Linked DNA regions of Homo sapiens: regions 1, 2, 3, 5, 6 and 7 are each linked to region 4. The links are contacts of gene promoters, found by promoter capture Hi-C in human tissues and cell types (Jung and others, 2019). All regions are on one chromosome and are shown on one strand. Each heading gives the region's core, a stretch centred on a gene start or on the middle of the fragment in contact. The rest is flanking DNA. Distances are from core to core; before and after follow the strand shown.

What was found. Contacts are between HindIII fragments. The study calls those that stand out against the background at their distance.
Region 1: a contact is called between a fragment that was not itself captured here and the fragment with the promoter of GOLGA2 in region 4, in 2 of the 25 tissues and cell types used here (H1 embryonic stem cells and dorsolateral prefrontal cortex).
Region 2: a fragment that was not itself captured here is called in contact with the fragment with the promoter of GOLGA2 in region 4 in 2 of the 25 tissues and cell types used here (dorsolateral prefrontal cortex and lymphoblastoid cells).
Region 3: a contact is called between the fragment with the promoter of TBC1D13 here and the fragment with the promoter of GOLGA2 in region 4, in 2 of the 25 tissues and cell types used here (dorsolateral prefrontal cortex and spleen).
Region 5: a fragment that was not itself captured here is called in contact with the fragment with the promoter of GOLGA2 in region 4 in 1 of the 25 tissues and cell types used here (dorsolateral prefrontal cortex).
Region 6: a contact is called between a fragment that was not itself captured here and the fragment with the promoter of GOLGA2 in region 4, in 2 of the 25 tissues and cell types used here (dorsolateral prefrontal cortex and lymphoblastoid cells).
Region 7: the fragment with the promoter of ZDHHC12 here is called in contact with the fragment with the promoter of GOLGA2 in region 4 in 1 of the 25 tissues and cell types used here (dorsolateral prefrontal cortex).

What each region holds. Positions count from the first base shown.
Region 1 is chr9:128,625,575-128,628,587 of GRCh38, reverse strand. SPTAN1 (spectrin alpha, non-erythrocytic 1) reads right to left here. Exons shown (of 57, transcript NM_001130438.3): 48 at 2,610-2,819; 49 at 1,901-2,197; 50 at 1,090-1,202; 51 at 646-663. Among named protein-coding and RNA genes, the nearest start is that of DYNC2I2, 30 kb to the left of the region's middle. RefSeq lists an enhancer at 921-1,566. The HindIII fragment of the contact is 6,522 bases long and covers 1-3,013 here.
Region 2 is chr9:128,691,691-128,694,615 of GRCh38, reverse strand. SET (SET nuclear proto-oncogene) reads right to left here. Exons shown (of 8, transcript NM_003011.4): 3 at 2,616-2,758; 4 at 1,851-1,954; 5 at 1,635-1,748; 6 at 808-978; 7 at 574-720. Among named protein-coding and RNA genes, the nearest start is that of SET, 3.9 kb to the right of the region's middle. The HindIII fragment of the contact is 6,023 bases long and covers 1-2,925 here.
Region 3 is chr9:128,785,706-128,788,530 of GRCh38, reverse strand. It overlaps TBC1D13 (TBC1 domain family member 13), which reads right to left and starts at 1,278. Exons shown (of 12, transcript NM_018201.5): 1 at 1,155-1,278; 2 at 124-197. The coding sequence starts at 1,177. RefSeq lists a silencer at 1,141-1,630. The HindIII fragment of the contact is 9,895 bases long and covers 1-2,825 here.
Region 4 is chr9:128,274,259-128,277,441 of GRCh38, reverse strand. GOLGA2 (golgin A2) reads left to right here and starts at 1,435. Exons shown (of 27, transcript NM_001366244.2): 1 at 1,435-1,549. The coding sequence starts at 1,466. It overlaps SWI5 (SWI5 homologous recombination repair protein), which reads right to left and starts at 1,166. Exons shown (of 5, transcript NM_001318089.2): 1 at 1,040-1,166; 2 at 687-735. The coding sequence starts at 1,101. RefSeq lists enhancers at 932-1,061, 1,922-1,971 and a silencer at 1,662-1,771. The HindIII fragment of the contact is 26,420 bases long and covers 1-3,183 here.
Region 5 is chr9:128,607,136-128,609,917 of GRCh38, reverse strand. SPTAN1 (spectrin alpha, non-erythrocytic 1) reads right to left here. Exons shown (of 57, transcript NM_001130438.3): 32 at 2,215-2,314; 33 at 1,869-2,066; 34 at 1,642-1,788; 35 at 941-1,044; 36 at 634-796; 37 at 253-267. Among named protein-coding and RNA genes, the nearest start is that of DYNC2I2, 48 kb to the left of the region's middle. The HindIII fragment of the contact is 5,536 bases long and covers 1-2,782 here.
Region 6 is chr9:128,586,258-128,589,290 of GRCh38, reverse strand. It overlaps SPTAN1 (spectrin alpha, non-erythrocytic 1), which reads right to left. Exons shown (of 57, transcript NM_001130438.3): 20 at 1,593-1,685; 21 at 348-482. Among named protein-coding and RNA genes, the nearest start is that of SPTAN1, 35 kb to the right of the region's middle. The HindIII fragment of the contact is 3,861 bases long and covers 1-3,033 here.
Region 7 is chr9:128,722,774-128,725,810 of GRCh38, reverse strand. ZDHHC12 (zDHHC palmitoyltransferase 12) reads left to right here and starts at 1,684. Exons shown (of 5, transcript NM_032799.5): 1 at 1,684-1,817. The coding sequence starts at 1,718. It overlaps ZDHHC12-DT (ZDHHC12 divergent transcript), which reads right to left and starts at 1,349. Exons shown (of 2, transcript NR_046240.1): 1 at 1,176-1,349. RefSeq lists a silencer at 1,316-1,795. The HindIII fragment of the contact is 17,684 bases long and covers 1-3,037 here.

The DNA of each region.
Region 1 (3,013 bases), core at 514-3,013, 350 kb before region 4:
GCAGAGAAGTCCCTGCCGGGACTGGGCGGGACAGCCCAGCCCTGCTCCTCCCTGGGGCTCCTCCCACGTCCTGTCTATCACATAACGGGTGCATTTTTGCCTTCTATTAGGGCGGACAGTCTTGTTACCCTCCCTGACCCCAGGAAAGTAAAGTGGCAGCCTCAGCTACTTAGGGGGTGTCAGTGCCCAGCCCTTCTCAGCTGTGGACTTACTGTACCCTGCCTGAGCCCCCAGCACTGCCATCTGCTTCATGCCCACTGACCACTGTTGGACTCGCTGGGGAAGCAGAGGTGAGAGCCCAACAGAGCCCGGTGGCTGGACAGGCACGGGGGTTCTTAGGGCCTCTGGACTCCAGCTCTGGCCTTCGTGCTTCATCACCTTCCCTACCCAAAGTGAGCCCTTGGAATCGCCCAGTGAGGCAAGGACGGCTCCCCCTGGCTTGAAGGCTCTATCGGGGACCAGGGACCATGGGCTATGGGGCAAGGCACACACTCCTCATCAGGTGACGAGAAGGGTGGGAGGGGAAGTGCAGCCCGCCCTGGGCAGGAAGGCCCATCCCGGGATCCTCCACAAGCCAGGCCACGAGGGGCAAGCGCACGAGACCCCCACATGACAAGCCCAGAGAAGGAAGAAAACAATATTAACCCATCGAGGAGGTATGTCCTGTGGAGAGCAGATCCAAGCAGCCGGGAGACAAGGTGGTGTCCGGACAACAGCAGCAATCGGGGGGACAGAGAGAAGACACAAGAAAGAAAGGAAAACAAAAGCAAGAACATCAGTACCCAACGCACAGACCCTGCATCGTCTGTCACCAAGTCATGGCTGGGGCTGACCACGCGCCCTGCATGGTCCCACTCAATCCGGGATCTCTAACAACTTGATGTCTGGGACATGCAGCACTGAGAGGCTGCTCCACCTATGCCCCCACTCCCGGCTCCAGAGCCCGACCAGGCGTTGCCAGCCCAGCTTTATTCCCAGGCTGCCTCTGGTTTTACACAAAGCACCACCACCTCCTTGGGGCTGGAAGCTCCCCAGGGCTTAAGTACAGCAGGGACATGCTGCTGCTCCCCGGCCCCAGCGGGCTGGCACCTGGTCTCTTGGATCCACTGGTGGAAGGCGTTGGCGTGCTGGGCAAACTCCTGGCGCAGCTTGTCGTTCTCCTCCTGCCGCCGCTGTTCCTTCTGCAGCTCCAGCTCCCTCTCCTGAGGGCCAAAGGGGGGCAGATGCTGTGCGCTGCTGTGGCAGTGACACCAGCCCCTCCTTCACAGATGGGCTCAGGGTGGTGGTGGCCTCCCCACAAGGAACCTCCCCAAAGATGAGAGGAGGAGGCTGGGAGACATGAGGCCGGCTCAGAGCACTTGGTAGTTCTTTCTCTGTTCCCACCCCCCAGGGGCTTCAAGGAAGAGGCGGACCTGGAGGGAAGCGACTGGTCAGTCAAGCAGGGAGTTGCTGGACTGTCAGAAATGGAAACTTCTGGCTGGGTACAGTGGCTCACACCTGTAATCCCAGCACTTTGGGAGGCCTGGGCAGGAGGACTGCTTGAGGCCAGGAGTTGAAGACCAGCCTGGGCAACATAGCAACACCCTGTCTACAAAAATTAAAATAATTAGCCAGGCGTGGTGGCACGTGCTTGTAGTCCCAGTTATTCAAGAGGCTCAGGCAAGAGGATCACCTGAGCCTGGGAGGTTGAGGCTACAGGGAGCCATGGTAGCACCACTGCACTGAAGCCTGGGTGACAGAGACCCTGCCTCAAGAACACAAAAAGAAATGAAACTTCTGATGAAACCATGCTCCTCCATCCTGCTCGTCTTGTCGTGACTCAGTTAAGTGTGGGCTCTGAGCAGGGCCCAGAGAGGGCTCTGGGAGGCCGAGCAGCTCCTGAGGGCAGCGGGAGGTGTACCTTGATGATTTTCTGTAGGTTCCTCCAGGTCTCCTCCAGGGCCTCCATGGTAAACCAGGTGTAGGGGTTGGAGGCTACGCGGAAGCTCTTGATCTGGCGGTCCAGCTCGGCCAGCTGGTTGAAGTCAGCCTGGGCAGAGCTGAGGGAGGAGCGGAAGGCGTCGTGGGCCTCGCGCAAAGCTTTGATTTCTTCCAAGGAGTTGCAGCGCACGGGGTCTGTTAAGTCCTCCTCTGCATTTTCAAACCAGCTGTTGAAGGCAGAAGCCTTTTTGGCGAAGGTCAGGAAGAGGTCCTCCACCTGGAAGCAGAAGAGACTGAGTTGGCGGAGTCGCCAGGGCTGGACGTGCCGACGCAGTGCAGGAGGTGGGGTGCGGGGTGGTTCCTGGGAATCAGAGGCGCACACAGCCTGCTGGGAGCTTAGCTCCCCTCTGCTCCTGTCTCCTGCTCCCCCTTCAAGTCTTCACCAGCCTTTTTTCCCCTTCCTACCCTTTGCCCTTGTCTCTAGTCTGTCCTGCGTGCTTCTGAATGGCGATCTCACAGGGCCCTCTCATTTGCCCTGGTTTTAATTGATGCCAGCCACACCCATGTTTGAAAGCTCTGCACTGAGCTCACAGCTTCCTCAAGGGGGAGTGGCAGAGCTGGGCAGACAGAAGGTGGGCGTCCTTCCTTGAGCTGTGGGCCAGCTAAGCTTCACGTGGCCCCATCCTCACCTTGCGGAAGTGACTCTGAGCCTCCAGAAGCTTCTTCTTGCGGGCGGCTGAGTTGGCCAGAAGCTGGCTCCACCTCTTCATGAGGGAGGCGTGCCGGGCCTCGATGGCCTTGGACTGAACGTGTTTGGCGGCGAGAAGCTGATCTTTGAGGGCAGTGATGTTGGCAATGCCTTCCTGCTGGAAGGCCTGCAGCCCAGCGTCAAAAGTTTCCTGAACAAGGAGTGACAAGCCAATTTGTGGTGACTCCACAGGACTGGAACTTGCTCTTCCTAGGCTCAGATGGCACCAGCATGTCCCCCAGATGCCCAAGCCAAACTGTCCACCTGGACACTGCTGAGACTCAGTCACACATGCCCCCTTTCCTGCTCTCCTTCAGACCGCAGATCACTGCGGCAGCCTCCTCC
Region 2 (2,925 bases), core at 1-2,500, 420 kb before region 4:
CTTCAGGATTAATGCTGAGACTTGCTTTCATATGGACCACAATGGACCCCACGAGTGCCCCTGGGGGCACTCCAGTTTCTAAACCTGTAAGTCAGCTGCATCGAAGGAAACACCCGTGATGATGTTGCTTCAGATTAATTAGTAACTTCAGTTCTAACCAAATCAGGTATATTTCGGATCAAATAATCCGAAATAAAACCAACCTATCCTAATTTGACTATTCAGAAATTGTGCAGTTTGTCGAAAATACATGAAACTTTGTTATTTCAGAGATGTCAGAATTTGACCAGCTACACTGCCTATATTGCCTAAGTACTGGCTAGGGAAAAACAAGCTTGGGTGGTGATAAGTCTAACCAAAAAAACCCAAAAAAAAACCAAAAAAAACCTAGTTAAACATTAGTACCATGTGCTTATCAAACATTTCCTTAATTCTTGAACAACAAAATGGCTTACTTTTTTTCCACAATCAGTTCTGGTCAGTTCTACCACACTATATATATATATATACACCCCAAAATAACATGAATTCTTTAAAAGTTATCTTTGTGGGTTTAGCCAAATTTTCTTTTACCTCTCCTTCCTCCCCTTCATCATCATCTTCATCTTCTTCACCTTCATCCTCATCCCCTTCTTCGTCAATATCTTCTAATCCTTCCTCCTCTTCATCATCATCATCATCTTCTTCTCCTTCTCCTTCTTCATCATCCATATCGGGAACCTTAAAAAAAAAAAAGCACAATATAAGGACTCATTTTTAAACAACCGAGACAAGTCCAACCTTGAATAAATGAGTATTAGAACTCACCAAGTAGTACTGTAATGGGTTTGGCCAAATATCATCTTTGATGACCTCTCCTAACTCATCAGCACCTGCATCAGAATGGTCAGTAAACCAGGTAAAGAAGCTCTCTGGTTCCTCATGCTGCCTCTTCCTGCTGGCTTTATTCTGCGTTTGACTCGAACGTTTCGTCAAATCCTAAATGAATACCGGAAGAGCTTTTGATACAATCTCTCCATAACACCCAAACTCCCTATAATTTAAAAAATAAGATTTTCCCCAAAAGCTAAGCAAAACAAATATCAGTATACTATCTACGCTACCATTATTACCTAAGAGCAATTATAAAACTGTGCAGCAGGTAGAGGTAGTATCAACTACATTTGGTTTTCCATAAAATTAGTTCCACTGTTAACAGCCACTAGCACAACACAGTATAAATATCTAAACTATGTCTTACTACCTAAATACGGATGTAAATGATTTTGAGAAATGGCAAGCCATTTGAAGAGCTCAGTCACCACTGCAGAAAACAACAGCAACAAAAAATTTAGTCCAGTTCTCAATTCTTAAACTTGGGCTAGATTTTTCTCTTTTTTTTTGTTTTTTGGAAGGTAAGGGTCTATGTTGCCCAGGGTAAACTCCTAGGCTCAAGAGATCTTCCTGCCTACATCTGTAGTATCTAATGAGAACCCTAAACTACTGTAATACTTGGCTTCAGCACACTGGAACGTTTTATATTTTAAGGTTTTGTATTTAGCCACATGACCAAAGTATCAAGCACTTGTAAGTGGTTAAAACTAAACTGAAATAGGCAAAATGCTATTTTTGTCAAATAATTCCTCAAAACATACCTTTCCAGATTTCCATTTGATTTCGGTGGACTTCGAAGATGGATCACCACTCTCATTCAGATGAAATTCTTTGGAGAGAACTTTATTTTCAAAGTAAGGATTTTCATCAAAATACTGTAATAAATAATTGAAAGATTAGAAATATGAACAGGTCTTCCAACCAAAGCTCACATTAATTTCCACAGTGGCAAACAAGATTAAGTTAGAGATACTTACAAAATCTATTCTGTAACCTGATTTAATATCTTCAAATTCTGTCACTTCAACTCTGGTCAAATAATGCAGTGCCTCTTCATCTTCCTCCCCAAGCAGTGCAGACACTAGGCCAGAAAATTACAGGTCAGCTGAATTTTCAACAGGCACACACTAACAACAATTTAAGTGATCCCTTTAAAATTTTTCCGAACTTAGTGAGCATCTTTGGTTTTATAAACCCATTATTAACTAAAGGCAATTGCTCAATATCAGACTGTCACTATCTTTCATCAAGCAATTAGAATATAGCTTCTCCTAAACAGAATAGAAAGCAGTAGCTGTATATCTTTTCCCGTCTTTGAGGTTTTTTTTTTTTTTTTTTTTTTTTTGAAACAGTCTCACTCTTGTCGCCCAGGCTGGAATGCAAAAGCGCACAATCTCGGCTCACTGCAACCTCCCCCTCCTGGGTTCAAGCGATTCTCCTGCCTCAGCCTCCCAAGTAGCGAGTAGCTGGGATTACAAGCGCGCGCCACCACGCCCAGCTAATTTTTTTTGTATTTTTAGTAGAGACGGGGTTTCAACCTGTTGGCCAAGCTGGTTTCGAACCCCTGACCTCAAGTGATCCACCCACCTCGGCCTCCCAAAGTGCTGGGATTACAGGTGCGCCACCGCACCCAGCCTGTCTTTGTTGCACGCAACCCAGCATGCTGGACTAAGTCTTCACCAAGCTTCCTCCATTCTAACAAACACTGTTTATCCTTTAACAATGCCCTGTCCAAAACATACCTTGTGGATGGTTGACAAATGTTGTTACCCAAAAATTTGGGATTTTGGCGATCAATTCTGACCTCTTCTGAAAAAATGGTTGGCGGAGTTTGTTATATTTCTGTTCTACTTTCAAAATCTCCTCACTGGCTTGTTCATTAAGTCTGAAGCAAATGAAAAGAGATGTTGACAATGATAGTATTTAACAAATTAAAAAATTGGTTGAGATTACAGAGTGTATTTACTTACTAGCTTGAGTCATGCAAAATAACCAAATTATAATAACCATTATCACCTAATTTAGACACTCAAAACTAAGATGGCAATTTTG
Region 3 (2,825 bases), core at 29-2,528, 510 kb before region 4:
TTTCCTTCCAAGGCCCCAGCCCCCAGCAGCTGGGCCCCAGAGCTGACCAGGTGTGGCCTCCCCCTGTATTCTAGCCACAGGGCTGCTGTAGGGAAACCGTGAAAATACAGAATGGCTTCTTACCACTAAAGCTGAGTTCCCGCAGCTTTTCCAATGCAATTGAGGGCTCCTTCAGGACATCCTGGAAATCTGCAATTCTGGAAGGGGAGATAGGGCGGCAAATGAAGCATGCTGATATCGGCTCAGTGAGACCCACAGCCCTCAGCTCCCTCACACTGCCAGTTTCCAACCTGTGCCTCTCTCCCCTTTAGGACATAAAAATCACACAGCTTAGTCAAGGTCCTCACCAAAGACAGCTTTGGAGAACAACAAAACTATATTTCACTTCTTCCTCTACAACCAGAAACACAGAATGCCAGGGAAGAAACTTGAGAGATATTCTTGTCTAGAAGTTCCCAAATGAGGACCATAAAATTAGACATATTCCAACATTCTAATACTTAGTGAGCTGACATTTACTGGGCACTTCCTGCCGGCCAGGCCGGGTCCACGCACAGCCACCAACTGAACTCCTTGGACCTCAGGAACCAGGAGTAATTTGATATGCAGACAATGGACCATGCTCACAAATATAACCATTACAAGACCTCTGGGCCTGCCAGAAGGCAAGGACAAAGGGTTTAAAAAACACGTCCTGAAGGAAAACTGAAGAGTGAGCAAAATTCAGCCAATGCTGCAGGATCTGGCCTGGGGGAGGGGCCAGACTGGAGAATGCAAGTTCTCTAGCAATCCTAGTAAGAAAAAGGCACGGGGGACAGGGTGCACTTGGAGAGAGTACGGGAGCAGGGGGATCAAAAGGGGGAAAGGCACGGGGGCGGGGCATGGGGGTCTGGATGAGGAAGACTCAGGGGAAGGGGGACACCAGGGGTCCAGGATGAGGGAGGCAGAAGCAGTGACATCAGGGGCAGGAGAAGGGCCGCCCCTCCGTCGTTCCTGCAGCCCACAGGCAATGAGGTTAGAAGGTGGACGCTCGAGACCCTCTGCCGAGGGGGTCTGCCGATTCCTGGCCACACCCGCGCTTCCCCCTTCTGAGGGGCAGAAGGGGCAGCCTGGCCAGGAGTGGCCCAGCCGGGTCAGGCCCCATGGCCCCTTACCGGCTCTTGTGCAGACTTGACATGGTGTTGACTTCCGGACCCCCCAGCCGCCTCCGCCGCCTGCGCCTCTGCCGCCTGCGCTGCCGCCGCCGCCGCCGCCCCCCAGGGACGCGGGGCTCTGCGCAAAAGCCTCCGGCGGGAAACACAGCCACTAGCCTGCGCGTTCCACCGCCTCAGCCCCGCCCCGCCCCGCCAGTCACGTGCCACCCCTCGACTCTCACGCTTCCACACGGTACTGGCGGCTACGGCCGGCCGGGTTGAGCGGGGCAACCTCGGGTCTGGTGGGCGTGGCAATCGCGGGCCGGGAGCCCCAGCGCCGCCGACCCTGCGGGCCAAATTTGAGAACCCGCCGGTGACAGCGCAGACTGTGTGTCTCTGGACTATTCCTTGCGCTTCCCTGGGCCTCAGTGTCTACTTACGCAATATACCTGTCACCCTGTCGTCTTCCCTGCACTCACCCCCCTGTAATTAACTACTGCATGATTGTTACAGGAGTCTCGGCCTCCCCTGCTAAACTGTTCAGGCCCCCCAGCTTATCTTGGTCTCTGCAGAATCCTCAAGGCCTGTATAGCAGGGACTCGCATGAACCGCCGTGCGCGGCCCAACTTTTTTTTTTTTTATAAAAACTATACCAGCAAACCCTATAAAATGTAAGTTAGGAAGAAAGAAAAAAACACAAATGATATCTTAAGAAAAATAGGCTGGACCGGGCGCGGTGGCTCATCCCTGTAAATTCCAGTGCTTTGGGAGGACGAGGCAGGCAGACCACTTGAGGTCAGGAGTTGGAGACCACTCTGGCCAACACGGTGAAACCCCGTCTCTACCAAAAATGCAAAAATTAGCCGGGCGTGGTGGCAGGCGCCTGTAATCCCAGCTCCTCGAGATTACCTTCTTTACAAAAGATGTAAAAATTAGTTGAGTAGGCCGGGCGTGGTGGCTCACGCCTGTAATCCCAGCACTTTGGGAGGCTGAAGCGGGCAGATCACCAGGTCAGGAATTTGAGAACAGCCTAACCAACATGGTGAAACCTCGTCTCTACTAAAAATACAAAAATTAGCCGGGTGTGGTGACGCACAACTGTAATCCCAGCTACTCAGGAAGCTGAGGCAGGAGAATTGCTTGAACCCGGGAGGCGGAGCTTGCAGTGAGCCGAGATAGTGCCACCGCACTCCAATAGCGCCACCGCACTCCAACCTGGGCAAAAACGCAAGACCCTGTCAAAAAAAAAAAAAAAAGAAAAGAAAAGAAAAGAAACTGCTTAAAGATTTTCCGAAATGGTTGTATTATTTAACACCTTTTTCTTGAGAAAAAAAAAAAAAGAAAGAAACAGCTAGCCAGGCGCGGTGGCTCACGCCTGTAATCCCAGCACTTTGGGAGGCCAAGGAGGGCGGATCATGAGGTCAGGAGATCGAGACCATCCTGTCTAACACGGTGAAACCCCATCTCTACTAAAAAATACAAAGAAAAAAATTAGCCGGGCGTGGTGGTGGGTGCCTGTAGTCCCAGCTACTCGGGAGGCTGAGGCAGGAGAATGGCATGAACCTGGGAGGCAGAGCTTGCAGTGAGTGGAGATTGCACGACTGCACTCCAGCCTGGGCGAAAGAGCGACACTCTATCTCAAAAAAAAAAAAAGAAAAAGAAAAAGAAAAGAAAGTGCTTAAATATTTTCCA
Region 4 (3,183 bases), core at 186-2,685:
GTTGGGATTACAGGCCTGCACCACCACGCTCGGCTGATTTTTTTGTATTTTTAGTAGAGACAGGGTTTCATCATGTTGGGCAGGCTGGTCTTGAACTCCTGACCTCAAATGATCTGCCCGCCTCAGCCTCCCAAAGTGCTGGGATTACAGGTGTGAGCCACTGCACCCGGCCCTCACGATCTACCTTAAGAGTGGTGGTAGTTGTAGTGGCAACTCCATCTGGGGGATGAGAGAAGGAGTAGGCTGCGTTTTGGGGGTGGCTTGCCAGCGAAGAGGAGAGACTATTAGCAACGAAAGGAGTGGCCAGGGTGAACGCCAAGCATTTTCCTGACTGGGGAGCTATGGGTTTGTTTAAAGGCAGGGCTGGGTGAGGGGTGAAAAGAGCGAGGAGGAGAGATGGCTGGTGCTGGACTGGAGTGAAAGGCATCTGAGGAGCCAGGAGACAGGATGGGGAGGGAGAGGAGTTAGCCTAGGACAGGACAGGATAACACTTCTTTGAAGACTGGCGGGCATGAGGAAAGGAAGGGGAGGGATTCGGGAATGACCTGGCGGTTCTCAGTCGACTGGGAGAAGATATGGAAGAGGGCCAAGCGGGGATTGGCTGCTGTTGGGATGGGGAGTGGGGCCGGGAGCGCACAAGGGAAGGTCGAGGATGGGAAAGGGGGTGTGGGGGAAGAAATACTCACAGGGGATCGGAAGGCCCCGCGGCAACTTCGGGTAAGTCTTGGTTCAGTCCTAGAGAGGAATCCGAGGGGAAAGTCTGATTGGACCCACAGCCCGCTGTGAGGACGGGGTACTGTGGGGATGCGGGAGGAGGAGCAGTTGGGAAGTAGGAGCGCCAGGGACTGGATCCATCTGGAAAGGGGGCAGACACGCTCTCAGGATCAGGGTAGAGACCCTCTAGGAAGGGGGCGTTCTGAGACGGGGGTTGTCTGGAGCACTGGATGGGAGTCTTTGGAGGTGATTTCTGGGAAGGGAGAGTCTGGGGCAGGGCTGTGAGGAGTCAGGAAAGAAACTGTGGAGTCCGTTCCTCGCCCACCTCCTGAGCCCTGGGGTCCGAGGCCCCCGGATCAGGGGGTTCAATGGCGCAAGAGGGTCCAGCGCGGGAGTCGGAGAGCGACCTCTCAGGTGCACCGGGCCAGGAACTCTGACCCGGAGTGTGAACTGGCGCACAGAAAGCTGCGCGCGCACCCAAGGAAAGCCGGCCCCGCCCCTCTCCCGAGGTGGGCGGGGACAGCGGTTGCGTGCGCAGCTTTTGTTGTGACGCCACAGGTCCCTCTGGCCACGCCGCTGCATAGCCACGCCCCCTTCCGCTTCATATTTCTCATTGACCAATGGGCTTTGATCTTTGAGGCCACGCCCCCATTCTGCGCTCCAGTATCGCCCTGGTTACGCCTCCTCTGGCTCCGTCGCACAGCTGCGCGGTGGCTGACTGACTTCCGCAGTGGTTGCCGGGATCGCGCTGATGTGGCCCCAACCCCGCCTCCCTCCCCGCCCCGCGATGTCGGAAGAAACCCGACAGAGCAAATTGGCCGCAGCGAAGAAAAAGGTAAAGTGCACCGGGTCGCGGCCCCCCGACCCAGCCCCAGCCCCACTCCGATGGCAGGACCATGGCCAGAGTCTCTGCCACTCCTGAGGCACACCGGGCTGGGCTCCCCACGGCGCGTCCGGGCTCCCTCCACCAAAGTCTTGTCAGCCAGCCCCGCCCCCTCAGCCGCCCAGCCCCCGCCCTCGCCAGTCGCCCCCGGGTGACTTTGGGCTGGTGCTCCCGGGGCTCCCCGCTCCAGACTCGGCCCTCACCTCCTGCCCCCCGAAGTCCGACCTCCCTGGGCTCTTTGGGCTGGCGTCTCCAAGGACCTAGGACCCCAGCAATTCAGCCCCTGCCCTCGCCAGTGACTTTGGGCCCGTGACTCCCGGGGCCCCCCGCTCCAGACTCGACCCTCACCTCCTGCCGCCCCAAACCGGACCTCCCGGGGTTCTTTGGTCTCGGGTCTCCAAGGACCTGGGTCCTGGCCCTGCGGTCCCCTCCCCCATCGCGGAGCGGCGACTTGGACGTCGCGCTGATGTTCCCCCTAGGAGTGGAATGTAGTGACGTCACAATCCCCCTCGGAACCGTAATTAGTTGCGCGAGACCAGTCTTTGATCTTAGGACCCAGTCCCCTAAGTGTTCTCATCCCGCTTCTGGTTCCTCTGGTCACAGCATAAATTTCCAGCTGGAAGGGGATTGGGGACTATGGGACCTAGGAGGGAGAGGTTTCAGGCTGCCTTACACCCTTAACATAGACATTGACAGTGTGAAAAGCCTACACTTCACCCGTGAACTGAAAACATTGGCAGTATCTCTGGGTGGCAATGTGAGAACGGGATTGGTTTGGTTTTCCCCCAGGCTTCTACTCTCCAGAGAGACTTTAACATTTTTTTCTGACTTCTCCACCTCATATTCGAATTCTCCATGGTTCTGGGACCAGAGTGCCCTTCAGTGGTCTCTGGAATGAGATCTGCTTATCTTCTGTGGAACAGGTCTTGGGAAACTGAACTTGACAGCTTGAATCTTCCTCATATCATCTCAACCTGGGGTACTTGGAGTGCCACAGGATAAATACGGGGCATCTTTCTGAAGCATCAGTCTCCCTTTATTCTCTTGAGAGAGAAAAAACATTAATGTACTTAGGGATGACAGTCACATAAATTTCTAAGAGTATACCAGACTTTTCTCTGAAATGAGGCTTGGGTTGTCCTCTTTCTGTTAAATTCCCAGGTTCAACAGAAAGGCTGCCTTCTGCCATGTGGATACATTGATGTAAAAGTTTGAGAGGCATTGGTGCATTTCTTAACATTACCAAACGTGTGAGGATGTATGACTCTAAACCACACAGTGTACAGTTCCTGCCGACTTAATGTTCCGGCCCACATTTTAAGATACATATTTATTTTTAGAGAGGGGGTGTCACTGTGTTGCCCAGTCTGACCTTGAACTCCTGGCCTTAAGTAATCCTCCTGCCTTAGCCTCCCAGGTAGCTGGGACTCCAGGCTTGACTTCTCCACCTCATATTTGAATTCTCCTTGGTGGAGTGGAATGTAGTGATGTCGCAGTCCCCCTCGGAACCGTAATTAGTGCGTGAAACCAGCTTTTGATCTTAGGACCCAATCCCTAAGTGTTCTCATCCCGTTTCTGGGATGAGA
Region 5 (2,782 bases), core at 2-2,501, 330 kb before region 4:
CTGTACAGAATTTGCCTAAGTGATAAACTGGGGGAGAGAAGGGGGAGTAAGGCGTTGCAGGCTAATTACAACAGAAAAAGCCACATCCCACAGGGACACTTGAATGGAGTGTAATGGATGATTAGAAATGAAAAGGATGGATGAAGAGACACCAGCAAACCGTGTGACCACAATAATAACAATAATCTACGCAGAGTAACACAAATACTGGAGCTCATTTAACTACAACTCTTAAAAAAATTAAAAACTTACCAGCAGCTTGGAAAGCTACAAAAACAGATTAAAAGAACAAGAGTTCAGTACACTGATGTGGACACACATATCAGCTATTAAATAGAAACTCATTTTGTCATACTTCCCCCAGGAAGCTCAGCATTTGGGAACAGTAATAGAAGGGGGATTCTATAGACTTTTATTACAGCAGAAATAGTTTTAATGGAGACAAATGAGGAAGGCAACTTTTAAATGGCTCTGAAACTTGACTAGGGCTTTCCCACTGGCTGGGCTTACTGAAATATTTCTCACTGACTTCCCATGGGTGCAAGGAGATTGTTTTATAAATGCTTTATTTAACAAAATCTACTCAATAACATAAGGCTACATCAAGACCAACACCCAGTCACTTCAGCTTACCTGGATGTTGGTGGGATCCTTGTACGACTCATCACTCGCTGTTTGCAATTTTTCACTGATCCAAGCCTCAATCTCATCCACATCCCGGCTGAACTGTTGGAGGGTTTGAGATTCTCCTAGCTTTGACCTTTTCTCAATCATCTGGGCTTTCAGACGTCGCCACCTGAAAGAGTGAAACCATGAGATCCAACATGAGCATATCTTACCGTGGAGAAGGAAGTGGGGAGACAGAACAGGCCTGGGCCTTCGTATGAGGGGATGCATCCTCTCAGGGCTGGTGACTATGTCAGTGCCACAGGACACCCACCTGTCCAAGACCTCATTGCGCCGGCTAGAAATGTCTCCCTTGGCATAATGGCCGGCAGCGATGAGCTGGTCGGCAAAGGCCTGCAGAGCAGCAATCTTCTCTTCCTGTCAGAAAACAAAGGCATGAGATCAAGGTGGGCCTGTGGCTGGGCCCTGCCTGGACTGCCAGTCTTGAGAAAAGGATAGTTATTTTGGGTGACTGAGAACTAGCTGGTGGCAGGATCAGAATACACTGACACTTTAGAAGCAAGAGTGTAAAATGCCAAAAGAAAGCTTGATTTCATTCATTACTAGAGTAGAGTTTAACTCAAGAAGTCTCCAGGTCACTCAGGTGGGGCAGGTGTTAGAATATCAGAACAGAACAAAATTAAGCCTGATAATAGGAAAATGCTGTCAGATTTACAGCAAAGTGACGTATAAATCAAACAGTTTTACATCTTCCTTGTTGTTTGTTCATTATTCCCTTACCTACCCACACATTTGTTTTCCATCCCTTTGATAATATTTTTTTTTCCTGTGGCACCCCCATTATTAAAATCTCAGAAATACCAGAATCTATAAAGTTTTAAAGATTATTTATGTACATATTTTTCTTAGACAACGCAGGTATTCCTTGGAGATATAACAGTGACTATATAAGCCAAGAAACAGATGTCAATCAGGAAAAATCCAGACTCCAACTCCATGGTCCAGAGGCCTCACCTGGACGTTAATCGCTTTGTCAAAGTCTTCATGTTTTTTGATCAGAGCCTCTACGCTGTCCAGTGAGTCTCCTTTGTCTTCGGTATTCAAGAAGGCCTCCCGGGCAGCCATCCAGTTCTCAGCTTGCTCACAGTCCCGATGGAACAGCTAAAGAGGGCAAGAGGCAGGTGAGAAAATGAGGCCCTTCAGCAAGGAAACACTTGGTCAGAAACCAGGAGCACACACACCTGCAGTTCAAGGCACTGATCCAGCATCATCCTGCGCTGAACCCAGGCCTTCTCCAGGTCTGCACGCTCCTGGTCAAGAATATCAAGTTTCTGCTTGATCTCAGGGCTGGCATAGTGTCCGTGAGCCAACAGCTGCTGTCCAAACTGCTCAAATGCCTGGAAAGTGCCAGCCCTGGCATCGATTTCTGTCCGGTGTTCCTGCCAAAAGGAGGGAAGGGATTAGGTAACTGGCAGCAGATGCCCACTCTGACGTCAACCACCGACTCACCACAAAGGGTGGGAATGAGGCCTCTAGGGCCCTGCAGAGCAGCCACGTCTTTGCTACTCAGCAGGCAGGTCCACCCACCTGGTGTCGCTCCAGCAATGCCTCAGCTCCGGTGACATCCTTGGCTAGCTCATCTGAGGACACCAACCCCCGTATTCCATTGATCCAAGACATGAGGTCCCTGGAAACCAGCACCCCAGAAAAATAGCTATTATATTACCTGGTAAGGAGATCTTCTGCCCAGGAAAACAGAGAATGACATAATTCTTGCCTCAGAAAGTTATCTTGGGTTAATCTGATCTACTGAATGAGGCTAGGTCTTTGGGCAAAGTGTTAAAAAACTTCTTGTTATTTTTTTAAAAGTCCGAATTTCTCAGAGGAAAAGTCAGTAGGCTTATAATTAAGATCTTTTCACCCTCCAGAATAACAAGTTCTAGCTACAATTAAGTCTTTGATAGCTTCAAATGAAAAAGCTTTTGTTGGCCAGGCGTGGTGGCTCATGCCTGTAATCCCAGCACTTTGGGAGGCTGAGGCAGGAGGATCGCTTGAGCTCAGGAATTCAAGATCAGTTTGGGCAATGTGGTGCAACCCTGTCTCTAAAAAAAAAAGAAAAAAAAGAAAAAGCCTTTCTTTAGGATTAACCCTTGAA
Region 6 (3,033 bases), core at 311-2,810, 310 kb before region 4:
GAAAAGAAAAAGAAAAAAAAAGAACCAACAGGTCCAAGTTATACAGAAAGCAAACTTTGGCTTGACAGGACAAAAATTCCACCTAGAGACACTCAATGGTGAAAATAAGCTATCCTTCTGAGTGTGATTATCTATGCTTCTTGCAGGTATTCAAGAAGACAGATTAACTTCTTGGTCATACACAGTACTGCATAAATGTATGTCACGTGGGGGATTGGTGAGGAAACTCATGTCTTTGAATTCTAAGCCTTCTCATTTCAGGGAGACATGCAACCCACAGAAACCCAACTGAGCATACGTGGAGGTGCCAGCGTGGAACAAACACACAGCCACTCTCTGTGCCTTGCCTTGTTGGTGCTGTTGAGTAAGGTAAGGATATCTCCCTTCTTCATGGTGACCTCTCGGGGACTCTTCTCCTGATAGTCGTAGAGAGCCAAGACCAGCTCCTTCCCAGTCTCATCATCCGTGGGGGCCACTTGTTGCTAAAAATCCAAAGGAAGGGCAAACATGGTAAAAACACGTCCGCGCTGAGTCATCTAAGTACAGAGCAGATTCAAATGCCACCAGCTGTACCAAATGTACCAAATATACACTCATGAGAATTCTTCACTGAAGCTACCAATAAAATCTGATCCAAGAACTTTAAATTTTTGGTATCTTTAAAAAAAAAATCTCATTTTGTCTGGGCACGGTGGCTCATACGTGTAATCTCAGCACTTTGGGAGGCTGAGGCAGGCAGATCACCTGAGGTCGGGGGTTCGAGACCAGCCTGACCAACATGGAGAAACCCCATCTCTACTAAAAATACAAAACTAGACAGGCGTGGTGGTGCGTGCCTGTAATCCCAGCTACTCGGGAGGATGAGTCAGGAGAATCACTTGAACCTGGGAGGCGGAGGTTGCGGTGAGCCAAGATCAGGCCAATGCACTTCAACCTGGGCAACAAGAGTGAAACTCCATCTCAAAAAAAAAAAAAAAAAATCTCATTTTAAAGTAGGGCCGGGCACAGTGCTCATACCTATAATCCCAGCACTTTGGGAGGCCAAGGCGGGCAGATCATGAGGTCAGGAATTCAAGACCAGCCCGGCCAACATAGTGAAACCCCATCTCTACTAAAAATACAAAAATTAGCTGGGCGTGGTGGCGGGCGCCAGTAATCCCAGCTACTCAGGAGGCTGAGGCAGGGTAATTGCTTCAACCTGGGAGGCAGAGGTTGCAGTGAGCCAAGATAGTGCCACTGCACTCTAGCAAGACTCCATCTCAAAAAAAAAAAAAAAATTTAGCTGGGCATGGTGGTGAACACCTGTAATCCCACCTACTCAGGAGGCTGAGTCAGGAAAATCGCTTGAACCCAGGAGGCGGAGGTTGCAGTGAGCCGAGGTTGTGCCACTGCACTCCAGCCTAGGCGACGGAGTGAGACTCTGTCTCTAAATAAATAAATAAATAAATAAATCTTATTTTAAACTCTGTAAATCTTTGTGTCACAAGAGTTAATAGCAGAGTCAAATGGGGCCTATGATAGGAACACCTGCTGACAGTATCTGAGTCCTTCAAGGCCTCCCTCCAGTAACCCATAAACTGTTACAAGTTTACCCGGCAGGACTGTGCTTGTTCTCGCAAAGCCTGGATGCTGCTGCCGTAGGCACTGAGATCTGACATCAAAGCTTCGTGTTTCTTCAGTAGAGCCTGAAACCAAAACCACACATGGAGCACTGTGCAGGGGCTGAAGCCTCCCATCCTCCACTGCCTCGCCAACCTGCCATCCTGCCTCAACAGCCTTTCTCAGTTGCACAATGACGTAATCACCTCCTGCCCTTCTTACAGTGCTAATATCATTTTCAAAGTTTTTCAGGATTCTCATCTTTTGGGACAATCATATATATTATGATTATAGCTTACTCATCCTGGTCTAGGCACAGAGGCTTATGCCTGTAATCCCAGCACTTTGGGAGGCTGAGGCAGGCAGACAGCTTGAGCCCAGGAGTTCAAGACCAGCCTGGGCAACATACTGAAACCTCATCTCTACAGAAAATACAAAAATTAGCCAGATGTGATGGTGCGTGCCTGTAGTCCAAGCTACTCAGGGGACTGAGGCAGGAAGACTGCTGAGCACAGGAGGTCAAAGCTGTAGGGAGTCGTGATTGCATCACTGTACTCCAGCCCTAGCGACAGAACGAGCGCGGTGCCTCACGCCTGTAATCCCAGGACTTTGCGAGGCTGAGGCAGGCAGATCACTTGAGGTCAGGAGTTCAAGACCAAACTGGCCAATGTGGTGAAACCCCATCTCTCCTAAAAATACAAAAAAAGTTAGCTGGGCGTGGTGGCGGGCGCCTGTAATCCCAGCTACTTAGGAGGCCAAGGCAGAAGAATCGCTTGAACCCAGGAGGTGGAGGTTGCAGTTATCCGAGATCATGCCACTGCACTCCAACCTGGATGACAGAGTGAGACTCTGTCTCAGAAAAAAAAAAAGAAAAGGAAAAATTCAACTCATTCTAGTTTTTGTGAAGAGTGGTAAGAGCTAGGTACAGGAACTATACCTAGACCTTTATGAATAAAATTTGAGAATTTTAGTCAAAAAACAGATAACCAGTAAAAAACCAAGTACATCTATGTATGTATGTGTGCATGTTGGTATGTGGGTATATGTGCGCACTGGTATGTACATGTGTATGCTGGTATGTTTGTAGGTATGTATATATGTATGTGTGCATGTTGGTATGTTAGTATGTATGTAAGCACACATATGGTTTCACATAGATGAAACAAGAGTGACAAATGTTAACGGTTGAAGGTGAGTGAGAAGTCATCTTCTCTCTCCTTTAGGTATGATTACATTTTCATAATAAAAAGTGAAAAATGGGCCAGAAGGGGTGGTTCATTCCTATCATCCTAGCATTTTGGGAGGCTTTGGCAGGAGGATTGTTTGAGGCCAGGAGTTTGAAACCAGATGGGACAACATAGCGAGACCCTGTCTCTACTAAAAATAAAATTAAAATTAAAAAGCGTAGCTAGGCAGGTAGTGGTACCTGCCTAT
Region 7 (3,037 bases), core at 435-2,934, 450 kb before region 4:
TCAAAGGTGGGAATTGGGGCCAGGCATGGTGGCTCACACCTGTAATCCCAGCACTTTGAGAGGCTGAGTTAGGCAGATCACTTGAAGTCAGGAATTCGAGACCAGCCTGGACAACATAGTGAAACCCTGTCTCTACTAAAAATACAAAAATTAGCTGGGCGTGGTGGCATGTGCCTGTAACCCCAGCTACTTGGGAGGCTGAGGCAGGAGAATCACTTGAACTTGGGAGGTGGAGGTTGCAGTGAGCCCAGATCGCGCCACTGCACTCCAGCCTAGGCAACAGAGTGAGGCTCTGTCTCAAAAAAAAAAAAAAAAAAAAGGTGGGCATTCATTGACTCTTGCAACCAGGGGATGCAGAGTCAGTATCAGCTTCAGGGACAGCCGGATCTAGAGGGCTCAGACAATGTTGTTCAGACCATCTCTTGCTCCCTCCTTTAGTGCTGCTTATCCATCTCTATGTGTCTTTATAAGTTGGTCTCATTTTCTCCAGCCACAGACAGGGTAAGCCCTCTCCGCCCAGCGTAAAGACGGCTCCCAGTTGCCTTATATCCCATTCCTTAGGCTTGAGATCCAAAAGAATGCTCCTTCCTCTCAGCATCTAGACAGTAATCTCATGGAAGGCCTGTGATTGGTTCTGCAGAGTCGAAAGCCCACAGCCTGCCGCTCGCCATCCTATGGGGTGAGGGGCAGTCCCTCCAATCACATGGGATGGGAAGTCGATTCCCCAACCAAAAAAAGGATGTTGAGCTGAGAAAAACAACAGATGTCAGAGGAGTATCCTGGAGGAGCTGGGATGGGGCCAATCAGAGGGAGGCGGAGGAGGATGCTGGTATCAGTGGGAGGTGCTGTGGAAAGGCGGGGCTGAGTGGAGAAGGCCCTGGGGACACAGGGAAGGAGGACAGCCTGCAGCCTCCGGTGAGGAAAGTCCGCCTGTAGGTGGTGGCTCACAGCAGGAGAGGCAAGACAGTCCCGTGCTAGACAAGGCGCTTCCATTATTTAATCCTCCCAAACACCTTAGGAGGAAGACACTATTGTAATCCCCCTTATAGAGACAGAAAACAGCTCAGAGGGGCTCAGTAACTCGCCCAGGGTCACACAGGTAGGAAGGGGCAGTGCTGGGATTTCTGACTCCCGCCTAAGTTGGATCACCCATAGTCAGAATGTGCACCACGTACCTCCACTTTTCTCTCGTCCGTTTGCAATATCTGAGAATACATAGCAAGGAGGTAAAGCTGTCACCACAGAGCAACCTTGGGCGAGCCTTGGCCCTCTCGAGACTTTAGTCATCACATCTTTGAAATGGGTACAATTTTGCCTCCCGGACTCACAGCAAGCCGCTGGATCTTCGAAGCGCCCAGGGAGCTACGCGCATGCGCGAGGCTGCGAGGGCGGGCACAGGGGAACGCGGGGGAGGGCACAGCGGAGCGCGGGGGAGGTGCGCGCGCGCTCCGGCGCTTTCAAAAGTTACCTGGCGGGTGGGGCTGGAGTTGAGGGAGTTACCAGCTGCGCGCGCGCCGGCCCCACCCTCAGCCTCTTCAGGCACCTGTTGGCTTGAGGGTCCATTCGGCCGCAGATGCCATCCAATAGGCAGCCTCCCTGACCCAGTCCGGCCCCGCCCAACGCCTAGATCCACCAGTCCCCGGGCGGCGGCGTTCCCCTCCCTCGGAGGGCCCGCCCCTCTGGGCGCTTCTTCCGGGTGGGGCCCCGGGCCGAGGCGATGGCGCCCTGGGCGCTCCTCAGCCCTGGGGTCCTGGTGCGGACCGGGCACACCGTGCTGACCTGGGGAATCACGCTGGTGCTCTTCCTGCACGATACCGGTGAGCCGGACCCCGAGCGACCCCGGACCCACCCGATCCCGCGTACTTCCCCAGACGTTCTGGTCACACTGGGTCTCCCGCCTAATCCCTGGAGATCCTGGGATTGGCCCGATCTCCACCAGCTCCTGAAGCCCTCTCCCCATCTATCATTCCAAGAGCCACCTGCTCTCTGTCTGATACCCCGTTGATCCCTAATTAATCCCAGCATCTTCCTGATCATTGCCAAATGCCCTGTCCATCCCAGGACCCAGCCGGTGCCCACCAGATCCAAGGACCGACTTGAGCCCCATGTCCCCTGATCCTGGGACCCACATGATCCTTCCCAGGAACTGACCCCAAATCTTCCTATCCATACGATTAGGAGGCTCAACTAGATGCAAAGATTGGCATTCTGCCCACACCCACACCCCCCACACCCCCATGGCCACTAGCTGCCCAAGTCCAGGCAAACCCTCAGGCCAGAGAACACTCCATGGGGTGCGGCCTGTCTCCCATCTTCCCACAGATTCACCCACCCACCCACCTCCATTTCCCTCATTCCTCTTAGTAGCCCCCTACCCAGCGCCTCACCTGCCACAGGCAGCCTCCCCCACTGTCCCCCACAGCAGACCCCAGCCCTCCTTCCATGGCGGTCCAGCCTCAGTTTCTGGACTGGGGCCCCTTCTGGCTTTCCTCCCAAGACAGACCTCCTCCACCACCTTCACCCTTTAGCCTAAAAACTTGCTCAGGTCTCCGTATCAGAAAACCCCCCTCAAAACCCACCCTTTCTTCTCTGCTCCCCCTTACAACCAAGGGACACAGGATTTGTCTACACTCTGCTGTCTGGTGGTCTCATGCCCCCTCACTCCTTGCCCTGCACCCTACCTCCCCAAAATCCTGTCACCTCCCTGGGCTGAAGCCTGCTGGACCCTTCCGTATGCCCCTCTGCAGCATCTGAGCCTGCCAGCTGCACCCTTCCCACTGTATCTCTCTCAGGCATTTCAGACCTAACCAGTCTCTCACCATTGCAGAGCCAGAGACGCTGGACCCCTCTTCCCTCTCTCCCACATCCAGTCAGGTCTGGCTCCCTTGACCCAGCAGCCCCCTGTCCATTCCTTCCTCCCTCACTTCCTGCCAGGCCTTTGTAGCGACTCTCTTCTTCCTCCTGGCCAGATTCTCTGCCCCCAGGCTTCCCCTGATCCATTTCTTTAGCAATGAGGTTTTCCAAAACAGATCTGGCT